Regions from separate parts of the Homo sapiens genome. Here all the other regions are linked to region 4. The links are contacts of gene promoters, found by promoter capture Hi-C in blood cells and fetal thymus (Javierre and others, 2016). All regions are on one chromosome and are shown on one strand. The core of a region is centred on a gene start or on the middle of the fragment in contact, and the rest is flanking DNA. Distances in the headings are between cores, read along the strand shown. Region 1 overlaps CPEB1 (cytoplasmic polyadenylation element binding protein 1). Region 2 overlaps CPEB1-AS1 (CPEB1 antisense RNA 1). Region 3 overlaps CPEB1 (cytoplasmic polyadenylation element binding protein 1). Region 4 holds the start of HOMER2 (homer scaffold protein 2). Region 5 overlaps CPEB1 (cytoplasmic polyadenylation element binding protein 1). Region 6 overlaps CPEB1 (cytoplasmic polyadenylation element binding protein 1). Region 7 overlaps CPEB1 (cytoplasmic polyadenylation element binding protein 1).

Region 1 (3,452 bases), core at 925-3,424, 370 kb before region 4:
CTACTGCATGCAGGATAAAAATCTCTGGGACAAAAGCCCTTAATATCCTGGCACCAGCTAAGAAAGTCAGCCACAAAAGAAAGCAGGAAAGAAGCTTAAAGACCACCTTGTCAAATTCCTCGCCATCCCGTCTTTTTTTACTAGAAAGCACACAAGGCTCAGAGATGGCCATAAGCGACAAAGCTACTAAAAGGCAGAAGATCCAAATCTCGATTTGTTGGTCTCAAATACAGGGACTAACTGATCCCCTGACCTCTCTCCCACAATGGGACACTTTCTAGACCCAGGTCTACACTCATACATAATAACCCTACTCAGACCTGTTTTATCATTAAGTTAGCAAAGGATCCCTTTTCTGCACTCAGGTCCCCATACTGTGTACTAAACCTATCCCATCATACTAGGAGTTCTTTTTTTTTTTTTTTTTTTTTTGAGACACAGTCTCACTCTGTTGCCCCGGCTGGAGTGCAGTGGCGTGATCTGGACTCACCGCAAGCTCCGCCTCCCGGGTTCACGCCATTCTCCTGCCTCAGCCTCCCTGAGTAGCTCGGACAACAGACACTGGCCACCACGACAGCTAATTTTTTGTATTTTTAGTAGAGATGGGGTTTCATCATGTTAACCAGGATGGTCTTGATCTCCTGACCTTGTGATCCGCCCGCCTCAGCCTCCCAAAGTGCTGTAGGAGTTTAATTCTTAACACTAACTCCCTCACCCTCCCCACTACTCTCTCCACAATCTGCTACTTATTCAGCAGAAAGTCAATTTCACATTCGGGTGTTTCTAAGATTTCGCTGCTATGTGCATATATTATTTTCAAAGGCGATAATTTTACTTCTTACCCATGGAGAGCAAAAAAGACGACTGCTGATTCAAGGCTAGCATCATCCAATCTACTGCTTATGGTATGGGGGAGTTCTGAAGCACGCCATCCTGAAGACTCTGGTTCAGAGTCCTTGAATACAACATGCCATCTAGGTTGTAGGTAACAACTAGTTTTAGTAAAACTAGTATAACCAAAACACAATGAAACATTACTTTACCTGACACTACACTGTTCAAATTGGGGTCTGCAGAAGTTCCTTAAACAGTACATCAAATTGGAGACCCTTTACAGTGCCAATCACGACTGCATCTACATAATATAAAAGCCAGTTATTTAAAACAGGAAGGCAGGGTATTTCCATATAGAGGGTAAATTGGTACAACATTCTGGAGAGCAATCTGACAAAAACATTGAAAGCTTCAAAAGATTTATTCTTTGATAAAGAAATACTACTTTTAGAAATTTATCCTATGTCCAAATAATCACAGATGCAGGCAAAAGCTTTAACTTCAGGTACTTCTTATAAGTGTATAAAATAGGCACCTATTTAAACAAACTCCAAAATACGAAAACTGAATGCCAGAGGTTAACCTTTTTTGTATCATGAACCATTTGGCAGTCTGCTAAAACCAATAAACCTTCTAAGAAAAATGTTTCAAAACATATAAAATAGTAATAATATTGAAATAGTAAATAAATGTCAAGGTATGTACAATGCCTGTAAAGGAATCAATATGAATTGTCTGATCATCCTATTGATACCAAATTATTAGGTCCTGCTAATATTGTGACTTGTTGCCTAAACTTACAGTTAAAAGAAATGCAGCTGGGCTTGGTGGCTCACACCTGTAATCCCAGCACTTTGGGAGGTCGAGGCAGGTGGATCACAAGGTCAGGAGACAGAAACCATCCTGGCTAACAATGTGAAACCCAGTCTCTATTAAAAATACAAAAAATTAGCCAGGCATGGCGGTGGGCGCCTGCAGTCCCAGCTACTCAGGAAGCTGAGGCAGGAGAATGGCATGAACCCGGCAGGCAGAGCTTGCAGTGAGTGGAGATCGCACCACTGCACTCCAGCCTGGGTGACACAGCGAGACTCCGTCTCAAAAAAAAAAAAAAAAAAAAAAAAAGCTACGTTTCAGTTAAACATCACTGAACGTGAAGATACAAGTTTTTACCTGTCTAAATTATTGGACCCCCTGAATTCTATCCATGTACCCAGGTTAAGAATCCCATAATGCAGGCTGGGTGCGGTGGCTCACACCTGTAATCCCAGCACTTTGGGAGGCAAAGGTAGGTGGATCACTTGAGGTCAGGAGTTCAAGACCAGCCTGGCCAACATGGTGAAACCCCATCTCTACTAAAAATACAAAAATTAGCCAGGCGTGGTGGTGGGCACCTGTAATCTCAGCTACTCTAGAGGCTGAGGCAGGAGAATCGCTTGAACCTGGGAGGAGGAGGTTACAGTGAGCCAAGATCACGCCACTGCACTCCAGCCTGGGCAAGACAGAGCGAGACTCCATCAAAAAAAAAAAAAAAAAAATCCCATAATGCATCTATCTACACAGTAAAATGCTATGTAGCCTTGAAAAGGGATATAAAAAATTAACACAAAGATAAAAGAGGCAAATAGTGTGTTCAAAATATTTAATATACACGTTTGAAAAAAAAAACTGGAGAGATACACCAAAATGTTAACAATAGTTATTTCTCAGTAGTAAGATGACATAATTTTTTTTTCCTAATTTGCTTTTTTTTTTTTTTTTTTTACAGTGAACACATTGTAACAAGAAAAAAAATGCAAGCTATTAAACTGGGTAAGGTGACAACATCCCCTAAATAAACTTGAGTAGTTTTTGCAGATAAAAGCCCATATTAGATTTCAAATTTGACATCAGGAGTTCAATGACAAAATGATATTAGGATCATAAATTTAAATAAGCCACAAAACATTAAAAATAAGAGTGACTTTGGAGGGCATTTAGCGGAAGCCCTTTATTTCACAGTAGGAAGACCCTCCCCCCAGTACTAATTCCAGAAGCCTTAAGTGCTGATCTCTGCATAGTTCCCTCTACCCCCATAAATGTACTCATTTATTCTCCAGACAAAATGATGCAACATATCTACGTTTGGAAACTAGACCACATTCTCCAAAGTGGAAGTAATACAGACTGTGATCAAGACACAACCAACAGTTAAGCTTTCAGCGGCAAAGTCTGGACATTCCAGCAGATGGGGGTGGTACCATGCAGAATAAGACTTTCAAAATTTAAATGAAACATCACATTCTCACTTTTCAAGGGAGAAAAAGAGCAGAAAACTTATTTTTGAAGTCCAGGAAGAACTAGGCAACTTACAACTATCACCACATTCCTCAAAACAACCCCATGGAGAAGACAGGCATTATATCCCTTTTACAAGCATTAAAGCCATGGCACAAAACAGGTGAAGCAATTTGACCAAGCTAAGCACTCATCTCATTCAAAACCCGAGCCCTTCCCCCACCATGCCCTTTATACAATTATATTGTAAAATTCCATTTTGTTTTTTAAAATAGCATGCAAGTAATAAGTAAAAGATGATCACTTTCACATCTCGGCAGCGTTCCTTGTCCTCAATCCTACTC
Region 2 (3,404 bases), core at 117-2,616, 300 kb before region 4:
TCAAACCAAGGCAGTCTTCTGGTTTCAGAGCCTGAAGTCTTAACCAGGTGAGAATAAAACTTCCAGCATGCTTATGTGTGTGCTTATCTGTGAATGACCCCAGAGCTGACTGCAGATGTTGAGAGAAGAGGTAACTTTGACCAAATGCAGTCATGACCTCAGGTGTGGGCAAGTCCTTGTTCCCTACCTGGACTTGGCTAGGCCTGCAGGTCATACAGGAAGAACAGTCCCTCTGAAGGTGACCATAATCCACAGGGCAGGGTGTGGAAAGTGACAGAGGTGAATTTATTAAATGACTTGGTCAAGTCCCCACAGCTGGTCACTGGCAGAAGCAGCAGAAACAAATAGGCAGCATTATCTATTCTCCCAGTCAACAAACAGCCTTTGAGCCCAGCTATGCCTGGCACTGTCTCTGCAGTCAAGCCCCAGACTTACAATACTGATTTTAAGTCCAACTATATAATTAGCTGGACTACATTTTAAATATGTGTACTAGGGAAACAGGAGGGACCCTATAGTCTTTTATATGCTCAAGTGTTCAGTGCTTCTGCAGGAGGCAGAGAGCTAAAAGAAGAGAGAAGTTTGATGGGAGAAAATAATTTCCTGGTTGCAAAAGATAAGAAAAGGAATTCACTCAGGAACTCAAGACCACAAGGTAGACACACACAGTCTCTGCTCAAGTTTTGCCAAGCTCTGTACAGAAGAAACCATGTTCTTTGTTTTTTCAAGTTCCTTTTAAGTGGGATAAAAAAGTGGATTGGGGCCAGGCGCGGTGGCTCATGCCTGTAATCCCAGCACTTTGGGAGGCCTAGGCAGGCAGATCATGAGGTCAGGAGATCGAGACCATCCTGGCTAACATGGTGAAACCCCGTCTCTACTAAAAATACACACAAAAAATTAGCTGGGCATGGTGGTGGGCGCCTGTGGTCCCAGCTACTTGGGAGGCTGAGGCAGGAGAATGGCATGAACCCAGGAGGCGGAGCTTGCAGTGATCCGAGATCTCACCACTGCACTACATCCTGGGTGACAGAGCGAGACTCCATCTCAAAAAAAAAAAAAAAAGAAAGAGTGGATTGGCCCCACCTTTCATCGTACACAAAAGTAAGTTAAAAATACAATTCTGAAAAGCTTTACTTAGAATTTTTTCAGAAGAAAATATAGGAGAATTTTTTTTTACCTCAGCCCGTGGATGAATTTTGTAAACTTGGAAAAATAAGATTGGAACAATAAGCACAGGATATAAAGGAAGACAATACATTTGACCACACTGGAATTAAAAACTTTGGTTTACTAAAAGAGTTTGTTTGTTTGTTTTGAGGTGGAGTCTTGCTCTGTCGCCCAGGCTGGAGTGCAGTGGCACGATCTCGGCTCACTGCAATCTCAGCCTCCCGGGTTCAAGCAATTCTTCTGCCTCAGCCTCCAGAGTAGCTGGGATTACAGACACCTGCCACCGCACCCGGCTAATTTTTGTATTTTTAGTGGAGACGGGGTTTCACCATGTTGCCCAGGCTGGTCTCGAACTCCTGACCTCGTGATCCGCCCGCCTCGGCCTCCCAAAGTGTTGGGATTAGGCGTGAGCCACCGCCCAGCTAAAGATATTGTTTAAAGCTTGAAAAGACAAGCCATAGACTGGAAGAAGGTATCTCCAATCCATGTATTTACAAAGAACTAGTTTCCAGACTATGTAAGAAGTTCTGTAATCAATGAGGAAAAAACACAACTCCACAGAAAAATGGGCAAAAGATGAGAATGGGCAGTTGACACAAGTGAAAATCCAAATGGCCAAGAAACATCAGTAGATGCCCACCCTCATCAGTAACCAGGGAAATGCAAATGAAACCACAATCAGATGCCGTGCCACACTTTTCAAATGGAAAAAAATGATCAACTTTCACTGTCCCAGTAGCAGGATCACTGCTAGTGAGGGCGTAAACTGATTCAGCTACTTTGGTGTGTGCTTTTATGTTTCATATCTTTTAATGGAGAGAAGGCAATGCATAGAGTGCACAAATCTTTTTTATTTATTTATTTATTTATTTATTTATTTTGAGATGGAGTCTCGCTCTGTCGCCCAGGCTGGAGTGCAGTGGCGAGATCTCGGCTCATTGAAAGCTCTGCCTCCTGGGTTCATGCCATTCTCCTGCCTCAGCCTCCTGAGTAGCTGGGACTACAGGCGCCCGCCACCACGCCCGGCTAATTTTTTGTATTTTTAGTAGAGACGGGGTTTCACCCTGTTAGCCAGGATGGTCTGGATCTCTTGACCTTGTGATCCACCTGTCTTGGCCTCCCAAAGTGCTGGGATTACAGGCGTGAGCCACCACGCCCGGCCACAGTACACAAATCTTAAGTGTATACCGAGGTAACCACCACCCGCATGGAGGCATAGAATCTCTCCAGAACCCCCACTGGGTTCCTTCCTGCCCCTTCCCACTTTATACCTCCCTCCTCAAGGTACCGTTACCTTACTGCTTTTCATTACAGATTCATTTAACCTGTTCTAGACTTCATATAATTTTTGGTTTCTTTCATTCAACATACCTGTTAGATCCATCCATGTTGTTGGCATGTAGGAGTAGTTTGTTCCTTTGTATTGCTAAGTAGTATTCCATTGTGTAGATACACCATAATTTATTTCTGCATTCTCCTATTGATTGGAATTTGAATTCTTTCCACTTCGGGGACTATTATGAATAAAGCTGCTAGAAATATTATTGATGTGAAGTATAGCAACTCTGGTGAGCAATTTGGATTCTCTAGTTAACTTGAAAAAGTGTATACTCTATGACCCAGCAATTCCATTCCTAGGAAAATATGTTAGAGAAACTTTCATACGTGTTAAGAAACATGAGTAAAAATGTCTGTAGCTGTTTTGTTAATAGTTACAAAAACAAAACAAAATAAAATAATCTTAAATGCCCACCAACAGGAGAGTGGATCAATAAATTATGGTATAGTCATACAATGGAATTCTATATATAAGTAAAAGTAAATGAAATACAGCAGATCACATCAACATGACTTACAAACAATATTGAGTGAAAAAGCAGGATGTAGGAGAAAACATACTCTCAGATGCCATTTATATAAAATTTGAAAACGTGTAGTACGCACCACCATCACAAAGTATGGTACTATATATTGTTTAGGAACACGTCTATCTATAGTAAAAGTACAAAAAAAAGGATGTTATTGATAAACAGAAAATTCAGAATGATTTGCTTCAGGTGGGAAAGGAAGCAGTCATGAAATGAGGGGTGTGGGGGACATTGGATTGATGAGCACTGAACTGATGAGTGCTTCAGTTCTCAAGTTGGATGATTAGTATACAGGTGGTTATGATAGTCTCTAAACTTGAAATACATAATAATATTTTAAAGAGACAGAGATGGGGATAATTAAGGGCC
Region 3 (3,154 bases), core at 553-3,052, 390 kb before region 4:
TAGAGTGACCTAATTGTACCTCTATAGGGTCTGGCCAGGCAGTTCTCTGAGTGTCTACAGATCAAAGGAAGGAAAGCAGCAAAGACAATGGAAAGAAAGCAGCAAAGCAGCAAAGACAAAGGGAAGTGGGGGGACCTCATTTCAAGAAAGAAAACCTGTCTTGCTCCCAGCTCATGAGACCATACCTGCCCTATGTAAGGTTGCTGAGTACGCAGCACCGATTTCCACCAGCTGGGAATCAGAAGGAAAGGAGCAAAATAGCTAGCGTTAGACTGTTCCCATTTATATTCAAAGCCACGAGCATACCTAACTGGAAAGGCATTCTCTTTAAGCCACACAAACTAAAATCCAGTGGAAATGACAGGTCCCTTATAATGCAGGCCAGTGTCTCATCTCAAAGTCCACTCCCCATCATGGGGCACACAACTTCATAATTCCAAATGTCAAGTATTAACCTAGATGGATTAGAGGAGGGGGAGGGGTGGTGAGAAGTCCTAGAGTCAATCTCCAATAACGGCCAAGGCCCTGACCTCTTTGCTCTGTTCTTTCCTGGCCTCCAGAACACAAGGGATCATGGAAAGTCTGAGGTTTACCAAGTGCCTCCAGCTCTGGTGTCCAAGTGTCCAGCAAATTCCTATCTTCTAAAAATGGGTAAGACATTGTGCTCTTCCTAGAACAGACGTACCCATCCCCATTCACATGCTGGCAGGAAATCAGCTACAGACATCTCTCAGGGAAGTCATGGGGAGGAGAGGACCTGGCAGAGGGTTCCAGTTCATTAATGCTACCTCAGAGGGTATAAGAGACCAAATCAGCAGTGATATTTTTAGACTGATTGTTAATTTTCTCTACTTTCACCCTTCTATGCCAGCTCCTGTCGGTTTTACAGCTGAGTCACTGTTCAAATTTTCGGAAGCCTTCCCCAAGAGTACAAAGGCACCTGGAGTGTGATGGCAGCATTAGCAATGGCAACAAGAGCCTGGCACTGAATGCCTGCATTATAAGACCATCTGAGCTTGAGCTTAGCTGAAGGAGAGACTAGCCCCAAGACATGATGGTCAGATATTTGTTATCTAATGGGAATAGTCTAATGGGGGAAAAAATCTAACGGGGAAAATCCAGACCAGGAGCCATTATTTCTAGCCTGTGATATAAGGCCGTATACCTGGAACCCTTCTTCCCTATCACCATCCTTGGTTCTAGGTTGCTTACTCAGGATCTCTCTGAAGGAATAGGAAGGGGGGAGAGTAGCATTCATTCCATGTATGAAAACAGACCACTCTGCCTGTGACCCCAAATCTGCAACTCTATACCATATCTCTACTGTGGCGGTAAACAGAGTGTGGACTTCCCCCCGACTGTGGATCCCACAAGTTCAAGTTAGTGACAAACACAGCCCTTCTCCCCAGTATAACTCCCAGTCTTGATCATCAGGCAAGTTCCATTACCTGTAGAAAAGACATATTCATGTCCCTTGTAAGGTCAGCACACATCCTGCCCCTGTCACTAACCACCTCAACTTCTTTCTCACCTAGGAGGCCTCCCTGGCCACACTGCTTCCCAGGTTCTCCCTCCTCTCTGCACTGAAAGCTTTCCCAAATAGACTACTTGACTCCACAATACAGCTCATGCTCCACTGTATGATGAAAACTTTGTATAATTACATCACCGTCCCCTAGAAGCTACAGGGCCCAAGATACTGATCTTTGAAGAATCTGTCCATCCAGCTAAATCAACACAAGCAGGAGGCAGAAGAATGGGAGAGACCTTGTCTGAACTCTGCAGTTAAAAAACAACCAGGATAAACACAGTGGCTCAGCACTCATCATTCATTCAAAAAATATGTATTAGACAGCCATTAGCCAAGCACTGTTGTACTGCTGGGAATATAGTATTGGAGAACTGGGAGTTGAGGAAGATTTACAAGAGACCTGGTTGGGCCGAGGAAGTCCATGTTCCACATAAGAGAGACCTAATCCCGTTCTGAATGTCGCCTCAGAATGGTTGTTTGGAAGAAGCTTCAGATGAAAATTGCTTAAGACTCCCCACTCATCTTAGGCTGATGTAGCCTGCAGATCAATGGGGAGCCTGCAAGTGACACAGCACAGGGAACATTCCATTCACTGATTAGCAGTTAGGGTAGAAAACCAGAGTGTGGGCCAGGCACGGTGGCTCACATCTGTAATCCCAGCATTTTGGGAGTCCGAGGCGGGTGGATCACAAGGTCAGGAGTTCAAGACCCACCTGGCCAAGATGGTGAAACCCCGTCTCTACTTTAAAAAAAAAAATTAGCTCGGTGTGGTGGTGGGCACCTCTAATCCCAGCTACTCAGGAGGCTGAGGCAGAGGATTGCTTGAACCCGGGAGGCAGAGGTTGCAGTGAGCCAAGATCGCACCACTGTACTCCAGCTTGGTCGACAGAGTGAGACTCCATCTCAAAAAAAAAAAGAAAAGAAAAGAAAACCAGAGTGTGAACAGGTTAGTCCTCAAGAGACTTCTAAAGGGGAGTGGCAAAAAACAGACATGTCCTCTGGCAACCTTAGACTGCACATCTGGTCTGCCCACTGGGCTTCTGTACAAGGCATCATTAAGAGAGTCCTTGTTTCCAGGTCCCCCACAGTAGTCTCAGTCACCTCACTCTTCTGCTGCATAATGCTGCACACAAAAGAGTCGCAAGGGGGAAGGCAGGAAGACAAATCCAGCGGGTGGTACAGCTGATAAGCTGAGACTCAGGGATCAAGATGGGGCTGGAACTGTCTACCATATGCCCTCACCTTCAGAGATCTCATCAAGGGAGCACATCACCTCTAGCTGAATAGCCCCTATAGTAGTATATGGTTACTTTAAGTTTTCTCACCCAATATGTTAGAGTTCTGCTAACAGGACCACAGGTGTAACAGGAAGCATATGAATTTTGTAACCAGAGACCTGGGTTAGAATTCTGAGCCTTCCAGGAGTTGTGTCACTTTGGGCACTTTGTAACCTCCATGAGCCTATTTCCTCATCTGTACAAGCATTAAAATCATGTGATGTACTTAGCACAAAAATTAGTCGATAAATGGTGGTTATTAGTCACTCCATGCCCCATTCCAGGATACTGAGGACAGTTTCCACAGCCCTTCTGTTCCACTACAGATCTTAAGACATTGCAAGCA
Region 4 (3,038 bases), core at 351-2,850:
GGAAATGTTACAGAAATACGGCCTGCCAACTTGGGTGCCTCTGGGTAAAATCACCCACAGTTGCTGTTCATGTGAAATCTCCTAAATGTAAGCACACTTCTTCAGCCCTCGCTGCTCATCTCGCCTCCTCCTCTCTGTCACCCACCTCTGTCATGTCCAGTTCATGTTGGCCCACAGCCCTCACACTTCCATTCCTCAAAATTCCTCTTGGCCTGCCTCTGATCCCCTCACACACTCTGCAGCTCCCATGGCTAAGACTCACCAGGCAAAATGACTCCAGAAACTTAACCTGGAGTACGGTGCAAGAAAGCCACTGACCCAGGGGGGCTGAGCCAGGGCACCAGGACAATCTTGCTCCTTCCACTGCACTCTTGCCTTCCCAGGCCCCACCCATCCCAAACAGGAAAGCAAGATCTCTAGACCCTTGGAGCAGAAGCATTTGAGTCCTGCGAAGGGCTGTTGGAAGAATGCTGGGTTCAGCAGCAGGGAACAGAGAGATTTAGGAATTCTGGTTCACTTACCCGCCTCCATGCCCACGTCAGGCAGTGGCAAGGCCACCCCTGCTACACAAATGCTCATCAACTACACAGCCTGGGGGAAGTCACCGAACCACTTTGTGCCTCAGTTTCCTCATCTGTAAAGTGGACATAAGTGTCCCCTGAATACGTATGGCAAACCGTCAACGTGTGCCCAAATAGAGTGAGCAGATGTAAGGAGTTATTGTGCTATTAGCACAGTGGCTCCCAGACTCACAGAGCCTACTGCTCAGAGAGACGCCGAGGGGAAAGCTTAAATTACTTTATATACTCAGAAGCATTAGTCACTTCGACAGAGTATTTCAACTTCCCTCCTGAGCATCTACTCAGTTGTTTCAAAGACTGAAGCCTCACCTAGGTTCCTTATAGACTTCCATCATCTTCAGCATCTCAAAGCAGATCCAAAGTCCACTATTCCTACGCTGGAGGTTTATTATTATTTGATTATTTCCAGGAAAACTTCGATTTCCATTTTGCTTGTAATAAATCCAAACGTGGAGAACGACAAACTGCTTAGACTCACACAGGCCCTGGAGTTGACTGCGCCCAGGGGCGAAGAGACCGCGGAATGGCCGAGGCAGGAGGCCGGCCAGGGCACCGGTCCCCGTCAGGTGCCCCCGTGCCCGGGCTGTATGGGAGGGGAAGGGCCACGGGCTCCGCGCCCAGGCCAGGGTGCCCCTGCTGGGTGTCCGCGTGCCCCGGCGGAGGGCGCGGGTCAGGTGGCCCCAGACTCCCGGGCGCAGAGTGTGCGCTCGCTCCGGCTTGGGGAGGCGGGGGCCGGCCCGCCGGGAGGCTCCGAGCCCGGTTACGCCAGCCGCGGCCCCGCAGTCCCTCCGGAGGGGCGCGCGGAGAGCGCGCGGCGCGGGCTCACTCACCCCATCTCCGGCGCTGCTCCGGCGGCCGCTCCGACGGGGCCTCTCGCGCTCGCTCTCCGCCCGCTCGGCAGCCGCTCCCCGCGCGGCACATGCGGCGGCCCGTGCGCGCCCGGCTCAGCCCCGGCGCCGCTCCATTCCGCGGGGCTGCGCGGCTGCCACTGCTGCCACTGCCGCCACCGCCGCCAGGCGCGGGCGGGCGGGGGCTGGGCGGCCGCGCTGGGGCGGTGCCCGCCCCGCCCTCCCCAGCCGCTACCCCCGCCCGGCTCCTTACGTAACCTCGTGGCCCCCGGGCCGCGGCAGCGAGCCAAGAGGCGGGGGGCGCAGCACTGTGTGCACCGTCCCCCGCGCAGCCGCGCAGTCGCCGCTTTTCTCCCGGGCCACCCAGTCCTCGGTGCCGGCCCCGCGTTGGCGCGCCCCCGCCCCACGCCGACCCGGGGCCCTGGCGCAGTGCCATCAACATCCTGCCTGATGGACTTAAAGTCCCATTCACACCTGGCGGGGACTTTAGGGCTACCTTTACTTTGCAGATAAGGGAACCGAGGCCTGGGGAGGGTAAGTGATTTGCCCAAGGTCACACATTCAGATTAGAGTTCGTTCGGGTCTCCAGAGTCTGAGATGGGCATAGCTGTGCTCCTCCTTAAAGCCCACCTTCATCTTCCTGCCAGTTGCCCGGCCGAGTGGCCTTAAGGTACCCGCCACCGTGAAATTTCGGAAGCCAGCCTGGCAGAGAAGAGCCTACAGGCCGCGGCAGATGCTCTGGGCTCTTTCCTGGATAAAAATGAGATGAGGGCTCCCACTTGAAGGGGCAGTTTTAAGGCGGCTTCATCAAGCTTGGTTTTATCCTTAGAGCGAGGGGAATTAGGATGGCAAAAGTAGAACTTGAAGAAGAGCAGGCTCTCTTCGTCGCCTTTCTACCTATCAGGTCCTGAGTTTCTACCAAAGGCTGGCACTGGGACTAACCTAACCTTCATCCCCCGGGACTTCCACGGGATCATCTTCTGCTGGGAACACACCGCCCACATAAGCCTGGCATCTCAGGACAGTAAAAAAGTCAAGGGACAGGTCGGGCGCGGTGGCTCACGCCTGTAATCCCAGCACTTTGGGAGGCCGAGGCGGGCGAATCACGAGGTCTGGAGATCGAGGCCATCCTGGCTAACACGGTGAAACCCCGTCTCTACTAAAAATACACACACACAAAAAAAATTAGCCGGGCGTGGAGACAGGCGCCTGTAGTCCCAGCTACTCCGGAGGCTGACGCACAAGAATCGCGTGAACCTGGAAGGCGGATCTTGTAGTGAGCCGAGATCGCACCACTGCACTCCAGCCTGGGCAACAGAGCGAGACTCCGTCTCAAAAAATAAATAAATTAATTAATTAAATACATAAATAGCCGGGTGTGGTGGCGTGCTCCTGTAGTCCCAGCTACTCCCAGCTACTCGGGAGGCTTGATGCAGGAGAATCGCTTGAACCCAGGAGGCAGGGGTTGCAGCGAGCCGAGATCATGCCACTGCACTCTAGCCTGGTGAAAAGAGCCAGACTGTCTCAAAAAAATAAATAAATAAATACAAAATAAGTTTGTAAAAAATAAAATAATCTTGGGAGTTTCCAAATCCTCCATGCATAGTAA
Region 5 (2,995 bases), core at 106-2,605, 400 kb before region 4:
CCACACTCTGTTGCCTGACTCACTCAGAAAGTCCTCCTCCAGCCTGACCTGGTCTCTGACCTTAGACAATGCCAGAGCTTTTCAAGAACTTTTAATAAAAAACTCCAGGCAAGTTCAGAGAATTGCAGCCTTTTCATGAAATAGTACCTGTTGTCTGTTCCAAACTGGTTTCGCTGTGAACTCTGAGCTTCCAACAAAGTTCCTACCTCACTCTCACTTCTTATCACCTCCTGTAGTCTCCAATAGCTTTTTCTCCCACTGCGTGGGAGATGGTGGGTAGAGGGCTAGATACAGAAGGGCCAGTACTCGTGACTTGTCTAGAAAAAGATATTATGGTGCTGGTATATGCTGATCTGCAGACCTGGGTCAGGCCTCTCTCCTCACTCCCATGGGGAAGTATCACAATCTTGGTCTACTCCCAGGGGCCAACCAAGCTTTCGCACACAGAAGTGGGACACTTACCAATGGGATACTTGTGCTTATCTGTGTCAATCCCGGCATACACCACTCCACCAAATAGGTCGTTCAAGATGGCTGCCAGGGCCTCAGCATTTAGCATTCCATGCAGAGCACCGACAAACACCGTCCTGCTGGGGTCAAGCCTCTGAGATGGGCTCCGGACAAAGTTACTGTCGGCTAATACCCAGGGGATCACCTGCACCTGAAAACCACCCAAAGGTGTATCAGCCCTGGCAGAGAGCCACAGAGAGAGAGGTGCTTGCACGGCAAGGTACGTGCTCTGGAGATACTGAAGCTAAGCTAACGCCCTTACAGGGGTGAAAAGGTGCTGTTGCCCAATCTCAGGCACACAGGCGTCCAATAAACCACCCTGACTCCACCCCAACTGGAGTTGAATTTTACTGAGTCCATGTGTCCAGAATGGTAGAAGTGGACACAGTACTCACTCATGCTGGAGAGTAAGCAAAAAAGTACCACATGGCCAAACCCAGGAGCCCAGCATTCTATTTCAACCTCCAACTGTGTAGTTCCAACAAAGGGCTGTGGACACTGATGAAAAGGGCATAATCTGAAGTCCTCAAGAAAGGAAGGACTCACAGAGAAATTAAAGGCTAGGATCCTGAAGGACAGAGGGGTGGGAGTGCTTACGATATTTGTATGAGATGGTTACTGGCCCAACCTAGCCTTCAGAGGGTTTGTGCCAGAGCAGTGGAAATGACTGGCGAGAGGTTGGGTAGAAAGTCACATACAAGATCCCTGGAGTCTTAAAGGGCTGGGGCTGACCATGTCCTTTGCCTCTGAATCTCCTGAACCTGGAACAAAACCTTGTAGAGCAGGTGGAGGAGTCCAGAATGAAGTGAAGATCTAAAAATATGTCTTGAAGCAGGAAGAGATCTGAGGCAGAAACCAGCAAGGAGGCAAAAACAGTAGTTTCAAAGGACAGGTGATTAAGACTTGGACAAGGCTGGTGGCAACGAGCAGAGAACAGGCCAAGACCAAAGAGATTCTTCAACAGAAGAGTCTGCAGTACTCAGACAGCATAAGCAGGATGGGCAAGCAAGGAAGAATCAGGCCTGGTAGGTGCTGGGCCTACACGGTCTTGGGATGAGAGGACCTGGCAGAAGTTACAAGAGGGGAGCCAATTTCACTGGAAGATGAAAAAGCCAATTTTGCCCACAAAAGAGTTTGGGATTACAGGACATCCCGAAGAAGGATCCCACAGGAAGGTGAGGCTCAGGTAGGACATGAGGCTAGAAAGGTGAATCTGGGTCTAAAGGTGAGAGAAGCCACAAAGTGAGTCATTTATCTGAACTAGAAAAGAAGAAGGGAGTCAAAGATTGGCTATATTGGCTATGTTGGTGCTGGCGGGGAGAGGAACACAAAGGAAAAAGAAAAGTAGAGAGGAAGGAGAACTGCATCAGCCTATAGCCAGTGAATCAAAGAAAGATTAAATCCCTGTAAGGTGATGGGAGGGAATGGGAGACAGGATGGTGTCTACAGGGGCACTGAGGAGGAAGGGGAAGGGCTCTGTGATATGCATATGGCCATCTCTGGTTGTGAAAGCAGGAGGGGAGGAAAAAGGAGCATGTTAATTAAGTCCTAGAACATACTAAGGTGGGAAGACTACACAAGCTCCAGAGAATAAAGAAGCAGAGAAGGTAGGGAAGCTGTGGGTCACTGTGGGCAGCCAGAGGATGAGCCTGCCCTCTCTCTAACACAGAACAAGAGCCAGCTTTGTTACATGGATTTATTTTAAATCTAATGTGACCATCCCAATAAAATAGGCATTTCTCCTCTTACCCTATAGATTTTTTTAGAGAAGCTTTAAGGTTTACAGTAAATCTGAGCAGAAAGTACAGGGATTCTCCAAATACTCTCTGCCCCCACACTTGCGTGACTTCCCCACTATCAGGATCCCGCATGAGAGTGGAACATTTTTTTATACTGACCCATCATCCCCACCGAAAGTCCATGGTTTGCATCAGAGTTCACTCCTGGTGTTTCTTTTACCTTCTATGGGTTTGGACCAAAGTATAATGACATGTATCCACCATATACAGAATAGTTTCACTGCCCTAAAAATCCTCTGTGCTATGTCTCTTCATCCCTTCCTGCTAAACCCCTGGCAACCACTGATCTTTTTTACTAAAATAGGCATTTTAGTTTCCCATCTTATAGAAGAGAAGAGGAAACAAAGTTTCAGAGATATTAAATATCTAGTCCAATGTCACAAAAGTTGTGTGCTCTCAAATCCGATTTTACCACCGCACTGATTCCTGAGCTCAAAACTTGCTTTGACAAGTGGTTCTCAAACACTACCCACTAGAACCACCTGGGGATCTTTATTCAGTTGGAGATTCCTAAATTCCACCCAGAGTGATTCAGTAAGTCTGGGATAAGGCCCAAGAATGTGCAATGAGATCCCCAGGTGAGATAAACTCGTTAGAGACCCATGCTGCCAAGGATACATAAGGCTGATATTAGAAAAAGCGTAGGAAGAGAGAATCTTATGGGGAAAACCCACAAAACTAAATAA
Region 6 (3,173 bases), core at 541-3,040, 340 kb before region 4:
GCGCACACCTGTAATCCCAGCTACTCTGGAGGCTGAGGCAGGAGAATTGCTTGAACCCGGGAGGCAGAGGTTGTAGTGAGCCAAGATCACGCCACTGCACTTCAGCCTTGGGGACAGAGTGAGACTCCAGTCTCAAAAAAAAAAAAAAAAAAAAAAAAAAAAAAGAAAAAAAGAAAAAAAAATCCTCAACTTGATAAAGGGCTCCTACAAAAACACCCACATCTAACATCATATTTAATGGTGAATGAAGTCTGCTCTCTTCACTTCTATTCAAAACTGTACTGAAGATTTTAGCCAGCACAATTAGGAAGGAAAATGAAACAAAAGGCATCTAGATGGAAAAAAAAGTAAAACTATCTTTATAGATGATACACCCAGAAGGCATGATCTTAGATGTAAAAAATCCTAAGAAATCACACACACAAAAATCCATGTACAAAAACCAGCTCTATTTCTATACACTAGCAATGAACAATCTGAAAATAAAATTAACAGTTTGACTTACAATAGCATGAAAAATAAATATACTTATGAATAAATTGCAAGACTTGGACACTGAAAACTGTAAGAAATCACTGAAATAAATTAAAACAAAAAAAATCCCCAATTCATGCATTAGAAGACTTAATATTGTTAAGATGGCAATAGTAGGCCAGGCACAGTGGCTCATGCTTATAATCTCAACGCTTTGGGAGGCTGAGGCAGGAGGACCCTTTGAGACCAGGAGTTCAAGACCAGCCTGGCCAACATAGCAAGACCCCATCTCTACAAAAAAATAAAAATAAAAATTAGCCAGCAGCCACGGTGGCACACACCTGCAGTCCCTGATACTCAAGAGGCTGAGGCAGGAAGATCACTTGAGCCCAAGAAATCACGTCTCAAAAAAAAGAAAACCCCAAAAAACAAAAACACGATGATCTAATAATTTTCATCTCAATAAGTTTAAAAAAAACACACAGTAAATCAAACCCAAAGAAAACAATAGGAAAAAAAATAAATGACACATAAAAGAAATGTATAACAGAATCGGGGGAGGGAGGGATCAAAGCCAAAAGTTTATTTTAAAAAAAAGATTAGTAACACAGACAAAAAAAAGCAAACGTAATGTTAAGAAATACTGGAAATTTTGTAATCCCAGCACTTTGGGAAGCCGAGGTGGGCAGATCATGAGGTCAGGAGATCGAGACCATCCTGGCTAACACGGTGAAACCCTGTCTCCACTAAAAAAAAATACAAAAAAATAAGATAAAATAAAAACTGGAAATTCTAAAACATCAGAAGAAGCTTTTACATAAACATTTATGCCAATGAATTTGAAAATTTAAATGAAACAGAGAAATTCCTAGAAAAACACAACTTAGCAAAACTTAGAAGACGGAATAGAAATTTGAGCCAGGTGCGGTGGCTCATGCCTATAATCCCAGCACTTTGGAAAGCTGAGGCGGGTGGATTGCCTGAGGTCAGGAGTTCGAGACCAGCCTGCCTAACATGGTGAAACCCCATCTCTACTAAAAATACAAAAATTAGCCAGCCATGGTGGAGCACCCCTGTAGTCCCAGCTACTTGGGAGGCTGAGGCAGGAGAATCGCTTGAGCCCGGGAGGCAGAGGTTGTAGTGAGCTGAGATCACACTATTGCATTCCAGCCTGGGTAACAGAGCGAGAGTCTGTCCAAAAAAAAAAAAACAAAAAAAAAAACACAGAAATTTGAATAATTGTATTTTAAAAACTGGGTCAGGCAAGGTGGCTCACACCTGTAATCCCAGCACTTTGGGAGTCCAAGGCGGGTGGGTCATGAGGTCAGAAGTTCAAGATCAGCCTGGCCAAGATGGTGAAACCCCATCTCTATTAAAAATACAAAAATTAGCTGGGCAGGTGGCAGGCGCCTGTAATCCCAGCTACTCAGGAGGCTGAGGCAGGAGAATCGCTTGAACCTGGGGGGCGGAGGTTGCAGTAAGCCAAGACTGCACCACTGCACTCCAGCCTGGGCAACATAGTGAGACTCTGTCTCAAAAAAAAGAACAAACAAACAAACAAACAAACAAAACAAACAAACAAAAAACTGAATCCACATTTTAAAAACTGTTCCTCAAAAAAACAAAAACAAACAAAAACACACTCCAGGCCCAAGTGGCTTCAGCAATGAATTATATCAAAATTTAAGGAAGACTATTATAAATTTCACACAAGCTCTTCTCAAGAACAGCGAGGAAAAAAAAAAACTTTTCAAGAAGCTAATGATTTGCTTCAAGAAGCTAACGACTCTGACACCAGGGATATTTTAAGGAAAGAAAATTACAAGCTTATCTCTTATGTGCATGAATACAAAAATCCTGAAGACAACATTTACAAATGAAATCCAAACAATATACTAAATAAAATATATTATGAACAACTTGAGTTAATTCCAGGAATGCGAAGTTGGCTTTACTTTGGTATTCTTTCCTGAATGTTATTCCTACATCTATAGAATAAAGGAGAAAGGTTAAATGAATAGATGCAGAAAAGCTGATATAATTTAATAACATTCATGATTTTATGTTTGTTTTCTTGGGGGTTTTTTTGTTTTGTTTTGTTTTTTTGGAGACAGTGTCTGGCTGTGTCACCCAGGCTGGAGTGCAGCGGCACGATCTTGGCTCACTGCAATCTCCACCTCCTGAGCTCAAGCGATCCTCCCACCTCAGCCCCAAGTAACTGGGACTACAGGTACGTGCCACCACACCCGGCTTTTCATACTTTTGTACAGATGGGGTTTCACTACATTGCCCAGGCTGGTCTCTAACCACCTCAACCTCCCCAAGTGCTGGGATTATAGACATGAGCCACTGCATCCTGCAGATTTTCTTTTTTTAAAAGCCTCTTGGCAAAGTCTGAAAAGAACTTTCTTAATCAGATAAAAAACATTCACAACTTCAGCATATTTAAAGGAGAAATGCTAAGAAGTTCACTCACAACCCCTCCCCTAAGACTGGAAACAAGCTCCCCCCGGGGAGAGAGACACTCACCCTGGATGGGAGCCTGGAACTCTACCACCCCGCCCCGCTCCCCCCTCAATGCCCCCCTGGGACAGCCCGGGAGGCTGCCAGGAAGGGACTGGCCTCCTTGGGAGGCTCCCAGGATCCTCTTCAGCCTCGCTGCTTCTGAGTCCCTGCCGGCAAGCCTCCGCCAAGCAGTG
Region 7 (3,432 bases), core at 418-2,917, 320 kb before region 4:
TTAGTCAAGTTTTGGGGGAGTCAAAGTTATACATAGATATTTGACTGTGGGGGTTGGTCCTCCTAACTCCCACACTGTCCAAGAGTCAACTGGACTAAAAACCAATGAACTGTACATTAAAGGTGAACTTTAGGGTATGTAGATTTTATGTCAATACAGCTGTTTAAAAATTTTCATTCTGCCATTTATTGGCTGTGTGATATCACAGTTACTTAACCTCTATCCCTCAGTTTCCCCATTTGTGAAATGGAAAAAGGATACCAACTTTTTGATGACATATGTAAAGCATTTTGCATGGCATACAGTAGCTGCTAATTTGTATCTGCAAACACTAATTATTGAATACAAGAGAGGTAAGTACCAACAGTGGTAAAACCACCCAAACTGATTAAGTTATACAACTCTATGTGGTCATTATTAGTACATACAACTTTATTAACTGGCATGAGAAGATGGGTAAGACATTACCGAATGAAAAAAGAACTCCTATATATATATATAAAAAATCATGAACCCTTACACAAAAACTATTCTTTTGGTATTCCCTATCTCGGTAAATAACACCACCATCCACCAGATGCCCAAAGCAGAAATGTAGGTACCATTCTTCACTCCGGTCTCCCTCACTCTCCACAGCCAATGCCCAACATAAGAAGCAATGAAATATTGGTTGACAGATTGAGTTTTTTAAGGGGAGCCTGCCTCATCAGTTCTATTATCCTCAATTATCTTGCGGAAAACAAAAACAGACCAAGTAATGAAACTGGCACTTAATATCTCATAAGCTGGTCACATCAAAACAAAACAAGAAGAGGCCCAATGTCATTTTGTTTGGCCTACTAAAATCCAAGTGAGCATGAGAATGACCAAGAGCATTTACAGTTTTACCAACTCTGCAGGATGACCTTAAAGGGACAAACTTGAGCCTCACGTCAGCCTCAAGTTCTTGAAGATTGGTACCCTCTGCAAACTGTGAAGACGACCAAAATACACAATCCTACAAGGTTGTTTTCCCAAGCTCTCTAGAGTGGTGCCATTGAGAACTGTTAAATCCAGTGACACACAAGGCCCTTTTCACAACTGTAGATTTCTAAGCTGATTCTCAATTTCAGGAAGGCAACTTCATGAAGGCTAAGATGCAAAGATTTATAACCTGCAGAGAGGAGGTCTCGCTGTGTTGCCCAGGCTGAACTTGAAACTCCTGGGCTCAAGTGCTCCTCCCACCTTGGCCTCCTGAGTAGCTGAGACTACAGGCACGTGCCATTGCCTAGCACAATCTGCATTATCTTAAGGCTACATGCTTCATTCTTCACTGCCTAATAAACATTAGCCGACTGCCTGCTCTCTATAGTGAGCACCCCAAGGGGCAGCAGATTAGACACAGACTAAACCAAAATAAAGTTTTGAAGTCTGGAAAAGAACTTTTGGCAGGCAGGAGCTCAAAACCAGCCTGGGCAACATGGCGAAACCCTGTTTCTACAAAAAATACAAAACATTAGACAGGTATGGTGGTACATGCCTGTAGTCCCAGCTACTCAGGAAGCTGAGGTAGGAGGAATGCTTGAACCCAGGAGGCAGAGGTTGCAGTGAGCAGAGATTGTGCCACCACACTCCAGCATGGGTGACAGAGCAAGACCCTGTCTCAAAAAAAAAAAGAAAGAAAAAGAACTAAGACCCGATCCTGTAAACATCCACAACACAGACTACAACGTGCTGTAAATGTACATTGTCCTCCAAGCCAAGGTGGCCTGGAGGGACAGAATGTGCCTGGAAATGGGGGTAAAGAGGAAGTTCTAAAGAACACAAGAGAGTAGAGAGGCATTATCAAAAGTGGTCCAGTGTGGTACAGCATTAGGTATAGGAGAGAAAATTGGAAAAGCCTCATATGCCAAATTAAGGAGTCAGCATTGTCTTTCAATACACAAAATTGTGTCTTTTCAATACACAAAAATTAACCTAGCTTTTAATTACTGTAATAAAAGTACTATATATATATGGACTACATGGATTCCAGATCCTGGCCACATCTAAAGGCAAGTAAATAACAAAGTGAGTCTTAGAAGGAGACCACCAGCAACTACATGACAGATAAGTGGCAGAAGGATTAGTGAGAAAGTACCACAGTAGTCTAGGGAACAGATGCAGACTTGGGAGTCTGGGAGAAAGGTATTCCTTAGGAGAGGAAGGAAATCTTACTATTTCAAGGAGTCTGAAAAAAAAATCTAATTTAGGAATGTGTCTGGTCACCCTGCCCCACTCCTAATCCTGTTAGGAACATACACACCTTCCCAAATCAAGGCAAATGATATCTGACATGCCTCCCTCCCCTTCTCTCACATACATCAAGCCAGAGCTCTAGCTTAAGATGACATTATAATAAAAGTGAATGAGGTGTTCAATGTATATTCCAAACTGTTTCATCTTATAATTACCAATGTTTGCCTTAACCAATTTGGAAGGAAAAAAAAAAAATCAAAGCCAGGACTGTCAGATGGCGAACAGATCTACTACTCTCCTTTGTGTACAATAGGGATAAAAGTAATACTATCTCATAAGGCTTTTTGTGAATTAATGCACATAAAGTACTTAGCATAGGGCCTGACATGTAATTATGTGCTGAACCAACGAATACTGTCTATCAGTCGTATCATTATTATTATTCAGAGGCCACCACAGGGATCCTTGAGGAAGGATCTATTGGCTCATTAAGTGAACCAAAGACCTATGGCAACTATTTCTCTGAAGACTCCAGGCCCTTCTATTCCTGGTACCCCCTAACTCTTCCTCTTAATCATTTGACTTAAAATGCTTAATTAAAAGGCAAGAGATATGATTCAAATAGACCTAAGGGCTGAATCCACTACAGGTTCAGTATCTCTCATCAGAAATGCTGAGATGACCAAGAAGTGTTTCAGATTTGGATTTTTTTTTTTTTGGAAGCTGGAACATTTGCATATACATAATGACCTATCTTAGGGATAGGGCCCAAGTCTAAACACAGAATTCATTTATTTTTTTCTCTTTTTTTTTTTTTTTTTGAGACGGAGTCTCGTTCTGTCGCCCAGGCTGGAGTGCAATGGTGTGATCTCGGCTCACTGCAAGCTCCGCCTCCCGGGTTCACAGGATTCTCTCGCCTCAGCCTCTGGAGTAGCTGGGACTACATACGCCCGCCACCACGCCCGGCTCATTTTTTTGTATTTTTAGTAGAGATGGGGTTTCACCACATTAGTCAGGATGGTCTTGATCTCCTGACCTCATGATCCGCCCACCTTGGCCTCCCAAAGTGCTGGGATTACAGGCGTGAGCCACTGCGCCCAGCCAAATTCATTTATTTTTTATATATACTTCATACACATAGCCTGAAGTTAATTTTATACAATATTTTTAGTAATTCTGTACATGAAATTAAATTTTGACTGTGTTTTAACTGTC

Evidence for each region. Contacts are between HindIII fragments. The CHiCAGO score rates a contact against its expected background, and 5 or more counts as called.
Region 1: a contact is called between a fragment that was not itself captured here and the fragment with the promoter of HOMER2 in region 4, in 14 of 17 cell types (total CD8 T cells, activated CD4 T cells, erythroblasts and 11 more). The highest score is 10.3, in total CD8 T cells.
Region 2: a fragment that was not itself captured here is called in contact with the fragment with the promoter of HOMER2 in region 4 in 1 of 17 cell types (total CD8 T cells); the score reaches 5.1 in total CD8 T cells.
Region 3: a contact is called between a fragment that was not itself captured here and the fragment with the promoter of HOMER2 in region 4, in 10 of 17 cell types (non-activated CD4 T cells, naive CD4 T cells, naive B cells and 7 more). The highest score is 9.1, in non-activated CD4 T cells.
Region 5: a fragment that was not itself captured here is called in contact with the fragment with the promoter of HOMER2 in region 4 in 16 of 17 cell types (total B cells, naive B cells, erythroblasts and 13 more); the score reaches 11.8 in total B cells.
Region 6: a fragment that was not itself captured here is called in contact with the fragment with the promoter of HOMER2 in region 4 in 3 of 17 cell types (total CD8 T cells, activated CD4 T cells and total CD4 T cells); the score reaches 5.7 in total CD8 T cells.
Region 7: a contact is called between a fragment that was not itself captured here and the fragment with the promoter of HOMER2 in region 4, in 8 of 17 cell types (naive CD8 T cells, total CD8 T cells, activated CD4 T cells and 5 more). The highest score is 8.8, in naive CD8 T cells.

What each region holds. Positions count from the first base shown.
Region 1 is chr15:82,582,328-82,585,779 of GRCh38, forward strand. All of the region lies in intron 3 of CPEB1 (cytoplasmic polyadenylation element binding protein 1), which reads right to left. Among named protein-coding and RNA genes, the nearest start is that of RPS17, 44 kb to the left of the region's middle. The HindIII fragment of the contact is 1,699 bases long and covers 1,326-3,024 here.
Region 2 is chr15:82,650,100-82,653,503 of GRCh38, forward strand. It overlaps CPEB1-AS1 (CPEB1 antisense RNA 1), which reads left to right. Exons shown (of 4, transcript NR_046096.1): 3 at 1-47. Among named protein-coding and RNA genes, the nearest start is that of CPEB1-AS1, 4.0 kb to the left of the region's middle. The HindIII fragment of the contact is 480 bases long and covers 1,127-1,606 here.
Region 3 is chr15:82,565,200-82,568,353 of GRCh38, forward strand. The region is part of intron 4 of CPEB1 (cytoplasmic polyadenylation element binding protein 1); the gene reads right to left. Among named protein-coding and RNA genes, the nearest start is that of RPS17, 26 kb to the left of the region's middle. The HindIII fragment of the contact is 428 bases long and covers 1,589-2,016 here.
Region 4 is chr15:82,951,120-82,954,157 of GRCh38, forward strand. HOMER2 (homer scaffold protein 2) reads right to left here and starts at 1,601. Exons shown (of 9, transcript NM_004839.4): 1 at 1,412-1,601. The coding sequence starts at 1,416. RefSeq lists an enhancer at 851-1,351. The HindIII fragment of the contact is 1,453 bases long and covers 787-2,239 here.
Region 5 is chr15:82,548,998-82,551,992 of GRCh38, forward strand. It overlaps CPEB1 (cytoplasmic polyadenylation element binding protein 1), which reads right to left. Exons shown (of 13, transcript NM_001365242.1): 10 at 463-661. Among named protein-coding and RNA genes, the nearest start is that of RPS17, 10 kb to the left of the region's middle. The HindIII fragment of the contact is 1,847 bases long and covers 433-2,279 here.
Region 6 is chr15:82,610,825-82,613,997 of GRCh38, forward strand. The region is part of intron 3 of CPEB1 (cytoplasmic polyadenylation element binding protein 1); the gene reads right to left. Among named protein-coding and RNA genes, the nearest start is that of CPEB1, 35 kb to the right of the region's middle. The HindIII fragment of the contact is 1,016 bases long and covers 1,283-2,298 here.
Region 7 is chr15:82,628,962-82,632,393 of GRCh38, forward strand. All of the region lies in intron 1 of CPEB1 (cytoplasmic polyadenylation element binding protein 1), which reads right to left. Among named protein-coding and RNA genes, the nearest start is that of CPEB1, 17 kb to the right of the region's middle. The HindIII fragment of the contact is 7,050 bases long and covers 1-3,432 here.